Linked DNA regions of Homo sapiens: all the other regions are linked to region 1. Evidence: promoter capture Hi-C in 16 types of primary human blood cells and fetal thymus (Javierre and others, 2016). All regions are on one chromosome and are shown on one strand. Each heading gives the region's core, a stretch centred on a gene start or on the middle of the fragment in contact. The rest is flanking DNA. Distances are from core to core; before and after follow the strand shown.

Region 1 (3,928 bases), core at 408-2,907:
CGTTTTGAGTGTGTAATGGGGGGGGTGTTCCTGAGAGAAGTGGGGAACACAGTTTTGGCCCTTGGAATACCCGGCGGCTGCTGATGGGGGGGCCGGTTTTTGCTCGGCGTTCGCCCACGCCGGGAGCCCCCTCTGGCGGGGAGAAAAGTGGCTGTGGGGGTTGAAGACCGGCAGTCTTTTTTTTTTTTTTTTTTTTTTTTCAAATAAGGAGAAGGGCGCGGGGGGAGGGCGGTGGCAAACGGCATCGCGTGCCCTGGGGAGCCCGTGACAGGGGGCGCACGGGGGCAGGGGTCTGGTCCCCGGGTCCCGCAGCAGAGCAGTTTCGCGTTCGAGCTCTTATCGGCGTGGGGGGGGGGGGCGGTGGGACACGCGGGCGCGTGCACTCCCCCCGCCCAGCAGCCATCCTTGGGGGGGTTGAGGGGGATGGGGGCGCACTCGGATCCCGCTCGCTCTCTGCTTGCTCGCTCGGCGCGGCGCTGGGGGAGGCGGGAGCGTGAGTCACGGCGACTCCCGATTTAGGTGCCGGAAGGGGGGCTCTGCTGGCGGGGGCCGCAGGGAGGAGGCTCGCCTGTTTACTCGCCTGAAAAGGGCACGGGGGTGCGCTCCGCGGCTACCTGGGACCTTCCTCAGTTTACCTCTGGCAGAAGCGCTTTAGAAGAGGCAGCGATGTATAGAGCGGTGGGCCGGCAGCTGCGGTATCCGCCACAGGGTGTCTTCCTGGAGCCACAAGGGAACCAATGGGACACACCCCAGAAACACCCCAGAGGCCCCAGGCCGACCACACACATACACTCACGCACACGCACACACTAACATACATAGACGTCCTCCGACACTACAGTCAGACGACAGAGGCCGAATCGCGTGCACAACTCCGCAAGCACACACCGACCACAAACGCATCCAAGCGCTTGAGAACACATTCACAGTCCCCAGGCCACCTGAAAAAAGACCACGTAGGGATGCACATCCTCCAAATAGGTAGCACATGTGCGCACACATCCTTCACCCACAGACACACACAGTTATACACACAGCCAAATCCAGAGAAACGGGCAGACAACAGCAGCCAACCACGTGCGCACACACACTTCCAGCCGACACTGAAAACACAGACAACCCTCGGAAGAGGCCACGTGCGCGCACATCCCGCCCCGGGCCCGCACCATCACTATCCTCCGACGCACAGACAGGAGATCCCACACACTCTGCCGCCGCCCGCTGCAGGTACCGCGCCGGTGGCACTAGGACCACTCCTCAAAAACTGCCCCCCGCCAGGGGTAGCGGCGAGGACACGCCAACACCGGACTCCGCCCTCGCCATGATGGACCGACTGACTGACACTCTGGCAACCAGTCCGGTGTCTGCTTCCAGATCGGATTAACCGTTTAACTCCTTCGTGCCTGTGCGCGCCGCGGCCAAGCAGGGTGCTTTGAAGACAGACGAGTTCCAGCGCCCCCTCCCAGCCCGGAGCGGGGATCTGCGTGGGCGGGAAGGGCCCCCCTCCTTAGGTAGCTGCCCCCCGCTGGCCCGGACGGAGGAGGAGGGGGGCGGCGCTGACAGCCGCGGCGGGCGGGGGGCGGGGAGGGGCGGGACGGGGCGGAGGAGCCGGGGCTGGCGCCGAGCGGGCCGCGGAACGCGGAGCGCGGAGCGCGGAGAGCGCCGCCGGGCACTGAGCAGAGCTCCAGGCGCCGAAAGGAAGCTGCAGAGCCCGGCCCGGGGGCGATTGGCCCGCAGCGCCCCCGGGTCTGTCCCCGGGGCGCCATGGCCCTACCGCGGCCGGGCGCACCCGCGGGGCCCTGGGCTCGCTGGCTTGCGCGCAGCTGAGCGGGGTGTAGGTTGGAAGGGCCAGGGCCCCCTGGGGCGCAAGTGGGGGCCGGCGCCATGGAACCCCCGACCGTCCCCTCGGAAAGGAGCCTGTCTCTGTCACTGCCCGGGCCCCGGGAGGGCCAGGCCACCCTGAAGCCTCCCCCGCAGCACCTGTGGCGGCAGCCTCGGACCCCCATCCGTATCCAGCAGCGCGGCTACTCCGACAGCGCGGAGCGCGCCGAGCGGGAGCGGCAGCCGCACCGGCCCATAGAGCGCGCCGATGCCATGGACACCAGCGACCGGCCCGGCCTGCGCACGACCCGCATGTCCTGGCCCTCGTCCTTCCATGGCACTGGCACCGGCAGCGGCGGCGCGGGCGGAGGCAGCAGCAGGCGGTAAGACTCCCCGCGGCGGATGCGCGCGGAACGGATGGGCGCGCAGGGAGGAGGCAACTCGAGCTGCCGGCCGCAGGGGGCGCTAGGATGCGGGTGGGGTCGGTTTGGCTGGCGGGGGCGGAGGGAATTCGGCTGCGGGGGCGTCTGGGACCTGGCCCCTGGTTGTGCGCTCTACGGGAGGCTTCCTGCTGAAGCCCATCCTGGGGTCCATTTAGGGGGCGCCACGCTGCGCGTGGTGTTAACGAGGTCTGGGTTGGGGAAGGGGGCTGCACACTTAGGGGTCTGTATTCTTGGTGACAGTGCAGAACAGCTGCTAAGCTGGGAACCACTTGGAGGGACCTTCCTGGGGGCACTATACTGAGGGCTAGATTCGCAGTGTTTGGGGTACTCTTGGAGCACTCCATAAGGGGGTGCCTGCTAGGACCAGGATCTTTACTTCAGGGTGGGGTGCTCTCAGGGTCCTTCTAGGGGATGGAGGACTCTATTGCGGGGATGTTAGTGGACTCCTCCTGCAGCAGCTGGGGTCAGAAATCCAGAGGGTGCCTCTTGGGGGAGCACTGTTTTGGGAGCCTTGCGTTAGATTGGAGTTCCCCTCTCAGGGCAAGAGTGTTAGCGTTAAGTAGCTGTTCAGAGGCAGGAAACAGTGGAGGGGGGGCGCAGTCCCAGCACAGAGGGAAGGAGTCCCTGACTGCAGAGGTGACAGCATAGTGAGGGTGCATGTGTGTTGAGCTTGGTCTCCTCTGAGGGTATTCTCCGATTGACCTCCGTTTGCTCCAGCTGTCCGGGTATGACCAGCTGTGGCTACCTCAGTTGTGTGCTCTGTGTGAGCTTCTGGGGTCTTGTGATGGTGACACGATGACTCTGTGTCCTCCAGGGACAGTGTAATTGTGACAGTGTGACTGTGTATTTCCAGGGTAGTGTGACTGTGTGTTTCTGGGACAGGGTTTGCGACAGTGACTGTGTGTGCTCCAAGAATGCTGTGACTGTCACAGGGTGACTGTGGCCTCATGGGATGCAGTGATTGGGATAGAGTGACTGTTTCTGCTCCTAGGACAGTGATTGTGCAATGGTGTTGGTGGTCTAGGGACAATGTGATTGTGACAGTGTCATTTCTGGCATGCAGTGATTGTGGCACTGGGGTGTTTACACTTGGGGAACAATGTGATTGAGTTCGTGGAACAGTCTGTGCTCCTTGGACACTGTGATTGAAACACAGTGGCTGTGTGTTAGTCTTCACCAGGTGCTCACGTCTGAGCGTCGGTGCTCTGACATGTGGTCTGTGTTCCCTCTGCCTGGTGTATCCTAAGAACTGGTGTCCTCTAACCACCTGGTGTTCTTAGTTATTGTTCCTCCTCTGATGGTGCTCCAGGGTCTGATTGCTTGTGCTCCAGCGATGTGTGCAACTGACAGCTTTGCCCGTGTGCTCTACCTGGATGCCCCACTGCTGGGGATATCACCAAGACGGTCAGATTTGGGCTCCTTATCCCTGGAGCTCCTGAGTGAGGCCTCTCTAAGATGTAGCCCTACTCTTCCTAAGTCTCTTTGGGGGTCTTCAGCAGTCATTGCAGCCCTCCAGGCCACCCCCACCTCTGTTCTGATCACCCCCCAGCCCCAGTCCCCCTGCACCCTTCTACCCACCAGGAAGCAAGTGTCACGGGCCCAGCATACATGGGCTGACATTTCCCAAAGGGAACTGGAGAGAGGCTGAAGGAAGAGAAAGTTGG
Region 2 (3,928 bases), core at 955-3,454, 180 kb after region 1:
CTGCTGAGAAGGTCACCTAGGGGGATGCAGTCACTGCTAGGCCCTCACCCCAGCCTAGACATTGCTGAACCTCAAAATAACTCGTCTCCTGGCAGCCGGGCGTGGTGGCTCACGCCTGTAATCCTAGCACTTCGGGAGGCTGAGGTGGGTGGATCACCTGAGGTCAGGAGTTTGAGACCAGCCTGGCCAAAATGGTGAAACCCTGTCTGGACTAAAAATACAGAATTAGCCGGGGGTGGTAGCACATGCCTGTAATCCCACCTACTCAGGAGACTGAGGCAGGAGAATCACTTGAAACTGGGAGGCAGAGGTTGCAGTGAGCCAAGATTGCGCCATTGCACTCCAGCCTGGGGCAATAGAGTGAGACTCTGTCTCAAAAACAACAACAACAACAAAATGAAGAACTCATCTCCTGGGGCCCTGAGATGTTTTCAGGCAGTAAGCAGAACCCGAAAGCCTGGGCCCAGTGCCCTGGAATCTGAAACTCCAGGCTTGTTTGGCATGAAAAATTCATGAGCCCAAAAGCTTACTTGGGGTCAGAGAACAGAGCAGCTCTGTGTGCTGGCTCTGCCTGCCCCGCCTGCCCCACCTCAGTGGCGGCCTCCCCCATCCCCCTGAGGCTGTGGCCTTGTCCTAGTTCCTTCTGGATGCCTGGAGCCTCCTCCAGCCTCTCCCAGGGACCACGCCTCTAGGCCCTGTCCACAATCCCTTCTCCACACCACTAAAGAGATCTCTCTGAAACTCACAATTATTTTTTGACTCTCACTCTCACATCCTCTATGGCCCCCCATTGCCCTCCAACCACCCCCACCTGGCACAGTCAGACACCTGCTGACCTCTGCCACAGGACACCACCTGAACCTGCTGTCCCAGACACCCTAACTGCCCGAATTTCAGTTCCTCTCCTGCTGTCTCAAGCCATCCTCCCACCTCAGCCTCCCAAGTAGCTGAGACTATAGACACGTGCCACCACAGCTGGCCACCTTAGCCATTTTGAAGTGCACAGTTCGGTGGCATTAAGCACATTAATGGCCATGCAACCGTCACCACCATCCATCTCCAGAACTTTCTCATCTTCCCAAAGGAAAACTTCTCCCTATGAAACACTCCTTCTCCCTCTCCCAACCCCTGGCACCCACTCTTCTTCTTCTTCTTCTTCTCCTTTTCCTTCTCCTCCTCCTCCTTCTTCTTCTTCTTTTCTTTTTTTTATTTATTTTGAGATGGAGTCTCACCGTCACCGAGGCTTGAGTGCAGTGGCACAATCTCGGCTCACTGCAGCCTCCATCTCCTAGGTTCAAGCAGTTCTCCTGCCTCAGCCTCCTGAGTAGCTGGGATTACAGGCGCCCCCCACCACGCCCAGCTAATTTTATTTTTTTATATTTTATTTATTCATTTACTTTTATTATTTTATTATTATTTTTTTTTGAGACAGAGTCTCGCTCTGTTGCCCAGGCTGGAGTGCAGTGGCACGATCTCAGCTCCCTGCAAGCTCTGCCTCCCGGGTTCATGCCATTCTCCTGCCTCAGCCTCCCGAGTAGCTGGGACTACAGGTGCCTGCCACCACACCCGGCTAATTTTTGTATTTTTAGTAGAGGCAGGGTTTCGCCATATTGGCCAGGCTGGTCTCTTGGCCAAGCTGGTCTGGAACTCCTGACCTGGAGATGTGCCTGCCTCAGCCTCCCAAAGTGCTGGGATTATAGGCGTGAGCCGCCGCGCCCAGCTTTTTTTTCTTTTTTTTTTGAGACGGATTCTCACTTTGTCGCCCAGGGGCTGGAGTGCAGTGGCGCAATCTCAGCTAATTGCAACCTCCTCCTTCTCCTAGTTCAAGTGATTCTCCTGCCTCAGCCTCCCAAGTAGCTGGGATTACAGGCATCTGCCACCACGCTGGGCTAATTTTTGTATTTTTGGTAGAGACTGGGTTTCGCCATGTTGACTAGGCTGGTCTCAAACTCCTGACCTCAAGTGATCCACCCATCTCAGCCTCCCAATGTGCTGGGATTACAAGTGTAAGCCACCATGCCCAGCTACTCAGGAGTCTGAGGTGGGAGGATCACTGGAGCCCAGAAGATTGAGGCTGCAGTGAGCTATGGTTGCACCACTGCACTCCAGCCTCGGTGACAAAGCAAGAACCTATCTTAAGAAAATACTGTGCTGAGCCAGTTCCTGAGAAAACAAAATAGAAAACAAAACTAAAGAAAAGGCAAAAGTTCCTCCCAGCAGAGATGTGAGAGAAAAAGAAAAAAAAAGTCCCCTGTGACACCCCCATACCCCAATCTTCGTCCCTCTCATAACCACTGGCTGATTCAGATCTTTTTCAGCTGGGTTACATGCAGGGGGGTGTGTGTGTGTGTTTGTGTGTGTGTGTGTGTGTGTGTGTGTGTGTGCGCGTGTTGCCCTCTTTCTCTCTCTTTCTCCCATACCATATAAGACTATACAACTTGTGGATGGGCACAGTGGCTCTCACCTGTAATCCCAGAACTTTGGGAGGCAGAGGCGGGTGGGGCACTTGAGGCCAAGAGTTCAAGAGCAGCCTGGGCAACATGGCAAAAAATCTGTCTCTACTAAAAATATAAAAACTGGCCAGGTGTGGTGGCTCACGCCTGTAATCCCTGCACTTTGGAGGCTAAGGCAGGTGAATCACCTGAGGTCAGGAGTTTGAGACAAGCCTGGCCAACATGATAAAATCCTGTCTCTACTAAAAATACAAAAAATTAGCCAGGTATGCTGGCGGACACCTGTAATCCCAGCTACTCGGGAGGCTGAGGCAGGAGAATTGCTTGAACCCAGGAGGCAGAGGTTGCAGTGAGCCGAGATCATGCCACTGCACTCGAGCCTGGGTGACAGAACAAGAATCTGTCTCAAAAACAAAACAAAACAAAACAAACAAGCAACAACAACTATATATATATATATATATATGTATATAGACTAAGCTGGGCATGGTGGTGCGTACCTGAAATCCCAGCTACTCCAGAGGCTGAGGCACACAAATCACTTGAACCCAAGAGAAGGAGGTTTCAGTGAGCTGAGCTCGCACCACTGCACTCCAGCCTGGGCGACAGAGAGAGACTCTGTCTTAAATAAAAAAAAAAAAATACAACTTGCTATTATCACTCAACAATATGACCTGGACGCTACTCCGGAAAGCATGTGGTTGAAGGGGAAGGAAGTGTGTCTTGGGTGTAAAGTCGGACTCCCTGGGTTCAGATCCTTGCAGAGCCACGGGCTCATTATGTTACTGTGGGTAAATTACTTCACCTCTCTGGGTCACTTTCCCCAATTGGAAAATGATTATAATGATTTAATACAGAGTGCTTGGGCCAGACGCGGTGTCTCACGCCTGTAATCCCAGCACTTTGGGAGGCCGAGGCGGTGGATCATGAGGTCAGGAGATTGACACCATCATGGCTAAGACAGTGAAACCCGTTCTTCACTAAAAATACAAAAAACTAGCTGAGCGTGGTGGTGGGTGCTGTAATCCCAGCTACTCAGAAGGCTGAGGCAGGAGAATTGCTTGAACCCGGGAGGCAGATGGTGCAGTGAGCTGAGATCACGCCACTGCACTCCAGCTTGGCGACAGAGTGAGACTCCATCTCAAAAACTAAAACAAACAACAACAACTATATACACACACACACACACACATACACACACAGAGAGCACTTTACTGGGTGAGCCAAGATCGCGCCACTGCCCTCCAGCAGCCTTGGTTCAAAAAAAAAAGGTGCTTGGCCAGCATGGTGGCTCATGCTTGTAATCCCAGCACTTCAAGAGGCCAAGATGGGCAGATCGATTGAGGCTAATGAGACCTGGTCTCTATTTCAAAAAAAAGAAAAAGAGTTAAAAAAATATATAAAGCATTTAATACCTTGTCTGACACTGACTAAGCTTTCTATAAACATTCACTCTTTCTTTCCTTTTTTTTTTT
Region 3 (3,928 bases), core at 363-2,862, 150 kb after region 1:
ACCTTGCTTCAGCAGCTCCAGGGCGATGGCGGTGCTGCCAAACATCATGACCTGTGTGAGGGACAGAGGATCAGGAGGTCCTCAAGGGAGGAGGTTCCACAAAAGGGGTCACTGGAAAGAGAAGGGTCATCCAGAAAGAGGCATCTCCCAGAAACAGGAAATGCTAGAGGAGGGGTCCTCTAGTGAACGGAGAAGCTGCATAAGCCCCCAGGAAAGTTCTTCTGGGAATAGGGACCCCCCCCAAAAGCTGGTCACTCCCTTAAGAATGAGACCCCCCAACCCAGAGAACAGCCCCCCATGGAAACTTTCAAGGAACCTAAGACTCTCCCCCAAGGGACCAAAGACGCCCCCAGATATGGGCAATCACCAGGAAACAGAAAATCCCCTCCAGGAAATGGGCCCCCAGAGATGGAGAACTACCCCCAAAGAATTGATAGTCCTCATAAGGGAAAAAAGATGTCAAAGGAAAGCGAACCCCTTCTCCAGGAAATAGCCTCCTCCTACATAATGGTGATGTCACCTCAGAGTACCTGAGAGCTCCTTTCAAGAAGCGGGATTCCAAAAGTAATAATAAAAGAGAAACGAGACTTCCCTGTAAAATGTCTCCCAGGGAATATAGGGATGTCTTGCAATCTGACATTGTTCCTCCATTGGGGCCCCCATACTATATCAAGGATCCGCATAACCTTTAGGAATGAAGACCCCACCCCCAAGTAACCAGATTTGTCTCAGAGAGCCCCCTACAAAATGAGGAACCCCTAGAGACAGGACCTCTCCTTCCAGAGATCGGATCTCCCCATAGAAGCCCCAAGAAACGTGAGCCGTCCCCATGGAAACGGCATCCAAAGGAGCTGAACCCGCACCCACGGAATAAGAACCTCCCCAGGGAAAGTGAATCCCCGGCACTCAGAGAACCAGGAATCCTCCCAGAGAAGATGCTAAAAAGCTCTCCCCTCCCCCCACAACCTAGCCTCACCCACCACCCACCTTCGAAGGGGGACTGTGGGGGAACAATGAAAGCCTAGAGAAGAAGGACCGGTTCCCAGTGGGTCACCACCAGGGCCAGGAGACCAGAGAGGAGCTCTGGGGTCTCGATCCTCATCCCGCTTAGCCGCCCCGCCCCAACCTGGACCGGCCCGGCCTCACCTGCAGCGCCGTCTTGCCGAAGCGGTTGAGGGCGTCGGGATGCACCAGCTCCCGGTGCAGAAGGCGGCGCACCTCCTGCACGTCGCCCCGGGCCGCCGCCCCACTCAGCCGGTCGCCGGCGCGAACCTCCTCCAGCAGCATGTCGACACTGGCGGCCTGCAAAGCCCCCCGCCCCGCCCCAGCCCGGCGCTGTCAGCGCGGAGCAGCCGGCGGGCGCTGGCCCGAACAGCCCTCCCGGGGCGCGGCCGCGGTGCACCCGGCTGCGCTGCTCTCCCGTCCCGGCTCCCCAGCCCGAGACCCCGGCCCTCCCGGCGGGCTCCTCCCCCTGTCAGCCGGAGGACGGCGAGGGGCTGGGAGCCGGGCCCAACCCTCGGCCGCCCGCGGGGCCCTGCCCGGCGCCCGCCCCTTGGGGGCCGGGTCTCCCCCTAACTCACCCTCCCTCCTCCTCGCCGGGCGGGGTCTGCTCTGAGCCTGCGCCGCCGCCGCCGCTGAGGCAGCCGCCAGGGGGCGGAGCCAACGTGCTCCCGGCCACGCCCCGAACGCAACTGATTTGTTTTCTTACAAACTCGCTACTGTGTAGCGGCACCGCGTTGCCCGGCGCGCGACCTTACGGCGTTCCGCCCACAGGGCCTGCATAACCAGTGGCTGCGCGTCGCCGGGGAAACTTCGGGCTCGGCGTGAAACGCGTCGCTCCTGATTGGTCAGAGTGTGGCAACCGGTGGACCGCCGGCAATGGCGGGGTTTTCGGTTTTCAAATGAACCCGGCAGGCGGGAAAGAAGGCTGGTTTAACTGACCCAGGGAGAAAGGTCAGGGGCAGGGTCGCGCGGGCTGCTCTGGGACCTCGGCGCCTCCTGAGGGAAGGGAGGCAGGGCTGGAGCCACCCAATCCGAGGTTCCACTACTAATAGACATTCATTGGCCCTTACTACGAGCTGGGCGCTTTATTTCATTCATTTATTCATTCACTGTGTGCAGGGAGCGTCCTGGGAGCTGGACGCGCACATTCAAACAACCAAATAATATTAGATAGTGTCAAGCACCGTGAAGAAAGGGAAACGGAGAGACGGAGTGGATGAGGAAGGGATCACCCTGCCGGGCTCAGACTGAGCCAGCAGGAAAGGAGCCTGCAGCTGCCACGTGGGAAGGCCTGAGAGGACATAGTCGCAGCCAGACAGGGACTCAGAGGTCTTCGTTCAAATATTTACTTAGCACCTCCTAGAGGGGCCCGAGTGGAGAGCACGCCAGTCGGCCCCTGCTGCAGGGACACCTATGGTCTGGGGCCAGAGACAATAGTTAATTTTTATTTATATATGTATTTATTTTTGAGTCAGGGTCTCACTCCTGTCACCCGGGCCGGCGTGCAGTGGCGCGATCACAGCTCACTGCAGCCTCGACTTCCCGGGCTCAAGTGATCCTCCTGCCTCAGCCTCCCGAGTAGCTGGGACTACAGGGCGCACCACCACGCCCGGCTAATTTGTGTTTTTAGTAGATATGAGGTTTCACTATGTTGCCCAGGCTGGTGTTTTTTGTTTGTTATTTGTGTTTGGCTTTTAAATACAGATTTTTTTTTTTATGTTGGGGTTCTTGCTTTGTTGCCCAGGCTGGTCCCGAATTCCTGGGCTCAACGGATCCTTCTGCCTTGGCCTCCAAAAGTGCTGGGATTACAGGCGTGAGCTCCTGCTCTCCGCCAATAGTTAAATCTTTTTAGAGTGGTAGAGGACTGACCAGATGAGCCATTGAAACGGAAAGGCAAAAAGCCGGGCGCGGTGGCTCACACCTGTAATCCCAGCACTCTGGGAGGCTGAGGTGGGCGGATCACGAGGTCAGGAGTTCAAGACCAGCCTGACCAACATGGTGAAACCCCGTCTCTACCAAAAATATAAAAAATTAGCCGGGCGAGGTGGCGGGCGCCTGTAGTCCCAGCTACTCGGGAGGCTGAGGCAGGAGAATGGCGTGAACCCCAGGGGGCGGAGCCTGCAGTGAGCCGAGATTGCGCCACTGCACTCCAGCCTGGGCGACAGCGAGACTCCGTCTCAAAAAAAAAAAAAAAAAAAAAAAAATTAGCTGCGCCTGGTGGCACGCACCTGTAATCCCAGCTACTCAGGAGGCTGAGACAGGAGAATCGCTTGAACCCAGGAGGCGGAGGTCGCAGGAGCCGAGATCGCGCCATTGTACTCCAGCCTGGGCAACAGAGTGAGACTCTGTCTCAAAAAAAAAAAAAAAAGAAAAGAAAAGAAAAGAAAAAGAAACGCAAAGGCAGGGAGGGCCTCCCTGAAGAGGTGACATTTGATTTGAGACCTAAAGGTGAGGGAGGGAGACTTGTGGTTATATGGGGAAAAGCACACCAGCTGGGAGGCACAGCAGATGCTAAGGCCCAGAGGTGAGAGCGTGCCTGGTGTGGTACAGAGCAGGGGAGAGCAGGTAGGTGGGGTATCAGGATGGCAATTGTGCAAATCAAGCCATGGCTTTTTTATTTATTTATTTATTTTAATTTTTTTTTAATTTTTTTTTTGAGACGGAGTCTCACTCGCCCAGGCCAGAGTGCAGTGGCGCTATCGCGGCTCACTGCAAGCCCCGCCTCCCGGGTTCACGCCATTCTCCTGCCTCAGCCTCCCGAGTAGCTGGGACTACAGGCGCCCGCCACCGTGCCCGGCCTTTTTTTTTTTTTTTTTTTTTTTTTGAGACAGAGTCTTGCTCTGTCGCCCACGCCCGACCAGGCCATGGCTTTAATAAGATAGGAATGCCGAGCGAAGTGGCTCACACCTGTAATTCCAACATTTTG
Region 4 (3,928 bases), core at 907-3,406, 130 kb before region 1:
CGAGAGGGATTGTCCGGGAAACTGGACGTGGCCAGAAAATTCCCAGCAGACTCCAATGTGCCAGGCTTGGGGGAACCCATTGCCCGAGCTCAAGTGTCTAAAGGATGGCACTTTCCCACTGCCCATCGGGGAATCAGTGACTGTCACTCGAGATCTTGAGGGCACCTACCTCTGTCGGGCCAGGAGCACTCAAGGGGAGGTCACCCGCAAGGTGACCGTGAATGTGCTCTGTGAGTGAGCCGGCGGGCAGAGCTGGGTGGGGGCAGGGGCCATGGACCTAATGCAATCCTCACCGCCTGTTGTATCCTCCCCACAGCCCCCCGGTATGAGATTGTCATCATCACTGTGGTAGCAGCCGCAGTCATAATGGGCACTGCAGGCCTCAGCACGTACCTCTATAACCGCCAGCGGAAGATCAAGAAATACAGACTACAACAGGCCCAAAAAGGGACCCCCATGAAACCGAACACACAAGCCACGCCTCCCTGAACCTATCCCGGGACAGGGCCTCTTCCTCGGCCTTCCCATATTGGTGGCAGTGGTGCCACACTGAACAGAGTGGAAGACATATGCCATGCAGCTACACCTACCGGCCCTGGGACGCCGGAGGACAGGGCATTGTCCTCAGTCAGATACAACAGCATTTGGGGCCATGGTACCTGCACACCTAAAACACTAGGCCACGCATCTGATCTGTAGTCACATGACTAAGCCAAGAGGAAGGAGCAAGACTCAAGACATGATTGATGGATGTTAAAGTCTAGCCTGATGAGAGGGGAAGTGGTGGGGGAGACATAGCCCCACCATGAGGACATACAACTGGGAAATACTGAAACTTGCTGCCTATTGGGTATGCTGAGGCCCCACAGACTTACAGAAGAAGTGGCCCTCCATAGACATGTGTAGCATCAAAACACAAAGGCCCACACTTCCTGACGGATGCCAGCTTGGGCACTGCTGTCTACTGACCCCAACCCTTGATGATATGTATTTATTCATTTGTTATTTTACCAGCTATTTATTGAGTGTCTTTTATGTAGGCTAAATGAACATAGGTCTCTGGCCTCACGGAGCTCCCAGTCCTAATCACATTCAAGGTCACCAGGTACAGTTGTACAGGTTGTACACTGCAGGAGAGTGCCTGGCAAAAAGATCAAATGGGGCTGGGACTTCTCATTGGCCAACCTGCCTTTCCCCAGAAGGAGTGATTTTTCTATCGGCACAAAAGCACTATATGGACTGGTAATGGTTACAGGTTCAGAGATTACCCAGTGAGGCCTTATTCCTCCCTTCCCCCCAAAACTGACACCTTTGTTAGCCACCTCCCCACCCACATACATTTCTGCCAGTGTTCACAATGACACTCAGCGGTCATGTCTGGACATGAGTGCCCAGGGAATATGCCCAAGCTATGCCTTGTCCTCTTGTCCTGTTTGCATTTCACTGGGAGCTTGCACTATGCAGCTCCAGTTTCCTGCAGTGATCAGGGTCCTGCAAGCAGTGGGGAAGGGGGCCAAGGTATTGGAGGACTCCCTCCCAGCTTTGGAAGCCTCATCCGCGTGTGTGTGTGTGTGTATGTGTAGACAAGCTCTCGCTCTGTCACCCAGGCTGGAGTGCAGTGGTGCAATCATGGTTCACTGCAGTCTTGACCTTTTGGGCTCAAGTGATCCTCCCACCTCAGCCTCCTGAGTAGCTGGGACCATAGGCTCACAACACCACACCTGGCAAATTTGATTTTTTTTTTTTTTCCAGAGACGGGGTCTCGCAACATTGCCCAGACTTCCTTTGTGTTAGTTAATAAAGCTTTCTCAACTGCCTCAGCCTTGTGTGAGTTGAGGGGAGGTGTCACATCCAGCTGGAGTCCTTTCTAAGCAGCCACAGCCTGATCCTCCCACTTCCTCCCCCAAGAAAACATTGTGGGTTGATGGCCATACCCTGAGGTTCTGGTCCAAATCGGACTTTCTATGACCTTCTGGGTCTCTAGTGAAAACTAAAGACTCCTCTCCAGAAAAAAACATTTGGTTTCTAATGAGGCCTGGAATCTTATTCTTGACCTGGGGAGCGGAATCCCTTTTTGCAGTACTCCCGGGCCCTCTGTTGGGGCCTCCCCTTCCTCTCCAGGGTGGAGTCGAGGAGGCGGGGCTGCGGGCCTCCTTATCTCTAGAGCCGGCCCTGGCTCTCTGGCGCGGGGCCCCTTAGTCCGGGCTTTTTGCCATGGGGTCTCTGTTCCCTCTGTCGCTGCTGTTTTTTTTGGCGGCCGCCTACCCGGGAGTTGGGAGCGCGCTGGGACGCCGGACTAAGCGGGCGCAAAGCCCCAAGGGTAGCCCTCTCGCGCCCTCCGGGACCTCAGTGCCCTTCTGGGTGCGCATGAGCCCGGAGTTCGTGGCTGTGCAGCCGGGGAAGTCAGTGCAGCTCAATTGCAGCAACAGCTGTCCCCAGCCGCAGAATTCCAGCCTCCGCACCCCGCTGCGGCAAGGCAAGACGCTCAGAGGGCCGGGTTGGGTGTCTTACCAGCTGCTCGACGTGAGGGCCTGGAGCTCCCTCGCGCACTGCCTCGTGACCTGCGCAGGAAAAACACGCTGGGCCACCTCCAGGATCACCGCCTACAGTGAGGGACAGGGGCTCGGTCCCGGCTGGGGTGAGGGGAGGGGGCTGGAAGAGGTGGGGGAAGGGTAGTTGACAGTCGCTCTATAGGGAGCGCCCGCGGACCTCACTCAGAGGCTCCCCCTTGCCTTAGAACCGCCCCACAGCGTGATTTTGGAGCCTCCGGTCTTAAAGGGCAGGAAATACACTTTGCGCTGCCACGTGACGCAGGTGTTCCCGGTGGGCTACTTGGTGGTGACCCTGAGGCATGGAAGCCGGGTCATCTATTCCGAAAGCCTGGAGCGCTTCACCGGCCTGGATCTGGCCAACGTGACCTTGACCTACGAGTTTGCTGCTGGACCCCGCGACTTCTGGCAGCCCGTGATCTGCCACGCGCGCCTCAATCTCGACGGCCTGGTGGTCCGCAACAGCTCGGCACCCATTACACTGATGCTCGGTGAGGCACCCCTGTAACCCTGGGGACTAGGAGGAAGGGGGCAGAGAGAGTTATGACCCCGAGAGGGCGCACAGACCAAGCGTGAGCTCCACGCGGGTCGACAGACCTCCCTGTGTTCCGTTCCTAATTCTCGCCTTCTGCTCCCAGCTTGGAGCCCCGCGCCCACAGCTTTGGCCTCCGGTTCCATCGCTGCCCTTGTAGGGATCCTCCTCACTGTGGGCGCTGCGTACCTATGCAAGTGCCTAGCTATGAAGTCCCAGGCGTAAAGGGGGATGTTCTATGCCGGCTGAGCGAGAAAAAGAGGAATATGAAACAATCTGGGGAAATGGCCATACATGGTGGCTGACGCCTGTAATCCCAGCACTTTGGGAGGCCGAGGCAGGAGAATCGCTTGAGCCCAGGAGTTCGAGACCAGCCTGGACAACATAGTGAGACCCCGTCTATGCAAAAAATACACAAATTAGCCTGGTGTGGTGGCCCGCACCTGTGGTCCCAGCTACCCGGGAGGCTGAGTTGGGAGGATCCTTTGAGCCCTGAAAGTCGAGGTTGCAGTGAGCCTTGATCGTGCCACTGCACTCCAGCCTGGGGGACAGAGCACGACCCTGTCTCCAAAAATAAAATAAAAATAAAAATAAATATTGGCGGGGGAACCCTCTGGAATCAATAAAGGCTTCCTTAACCAGCCTCTGTCCTGTGACCTAAGGGTCCGCATTACTGCCCTTCTTCGGAGGAACTGGTTTGTTTTTGTTGTTGTTGTTGTTTTTGCGATCACTTTCTCCAAGTTCCTTGTCTCCCTGAGGGCACCTGAGGTTTCCTCACTCAGGGCCCACCTGGGGTCCCGAAGCCCCAGACTCTGTGTATCCCCAGCGGGTGTCACAGAAACCTCTC

The links. Contacts are between HindIII fragments. The CHiCAGO score rates a contact against its expected background, and 5 or more counts as called.
Region 2: a contact is called between a fragment that was not itself captured here and the fragment with the promoter of PDE4A in region 1, in 1 of 17 cell types (naive B cells). The highest score is 5.2, in naive B cells.
Region 3: the fragment with the promoter of CDKN2D here is called in contact with the fragment with the promoter of PDE4A in region 1 in 7 of 17 cell types (endothelial precursors, total B cells, total CD8 T cells and 4 more); the score reaches 9.1 in endothelial precursors.
Region 4: the fragment with the promoter of ICAM4 here is called in contact with the fragment with the promoter of PDE4A in region 1 in 9 of 17 cell types (monocytes, total B cells, activated CD4 T cells and 6 more); the score reaches 8.3 in monocytes.

The regions. Positions count from the first base shown.
Region 1 is chr19:10,418,881-10,422,808 of GRCh38, forward strand. PDE4A (phosphodiesterase 4A) reads left to right here and starts at 1,658. Exons shown (of 15, transcript NM_001111307.2): 1 at 1,658-2,204. The coding sequence starts at 1,885. RefSeq lists enhancers at 451-1,330, 2,511-2,700 and silencers at 1,551-2,020, 2,251-2,300. The HindIII fragment of the contact is 23,098 bases long and covers 1-3,928 here.
Region 2 is chr19:10,593,555-10,597,482 of GRCh38, forward strand. No RefSeq gene overlaps it. Among named protein-coding and RNA genes, the nearest start is that of AP1M2, 8.2 kb to the left of the region's middle. RefSeq lists enhancers at 90-614, 2,089-2,278. The HindIII fragment of the contact is 3,363 bases long and covers 524-3,886 here.
Region 3 is chr19:10,567,367-10,571,294 of GRCh38, forward strand. It overlaps CDKN2D (cyclin dependent kinase inhibitor 2D), which reads right to left and starts at 1,613. Exons shown (of 2, transcript NM_001800.4): 1 at 1,147-1,613; 2 at 1-51. The coding sequence starts at 1,287. RefSeq lists enhancers at 1-340, 780-949 and a silencer at 1,230-1,879. The HindIII fragment of the contact is 9,110 bases long and covers 1-3,928 here.
Region 4 is chr19:10,284,799-10,288,726 of GRCh38, forward strand. It overlaps ICAM4 (intercellular adhesion molecule 4 (Landsteiner-Wiener blood group)), which reads left to right and starts at 2,157. Exons shown (of 3, transcript NM_001544.5): 1 at 2,157-2,608; 2 at 2,738-3,040; 3 at 3,188-3,722. The coding sequence starts at 2,215. The coding sequence ends at 3,306. ICAM1 (intercellular adhesion molecule 1) reads left to right here. Exons shown (of 7, transcript NM_000201.3): 6 at 1-230; 7 at 317-1,817. The coding sequence ends at 489. It overlaps ICAM4-AS1 (ICAM4 antisense RNA 1), which reads right to left. Exons shown (of 1, transcript NR_186335.1): 1 at 1,003-3,928. RefSeq lists enhancers at 1,725-1,774, 1,829-2,798, 2,145-2,284. The HindIII fragment of the contact is 2,558 bases long and covers 1,802-3,928 here.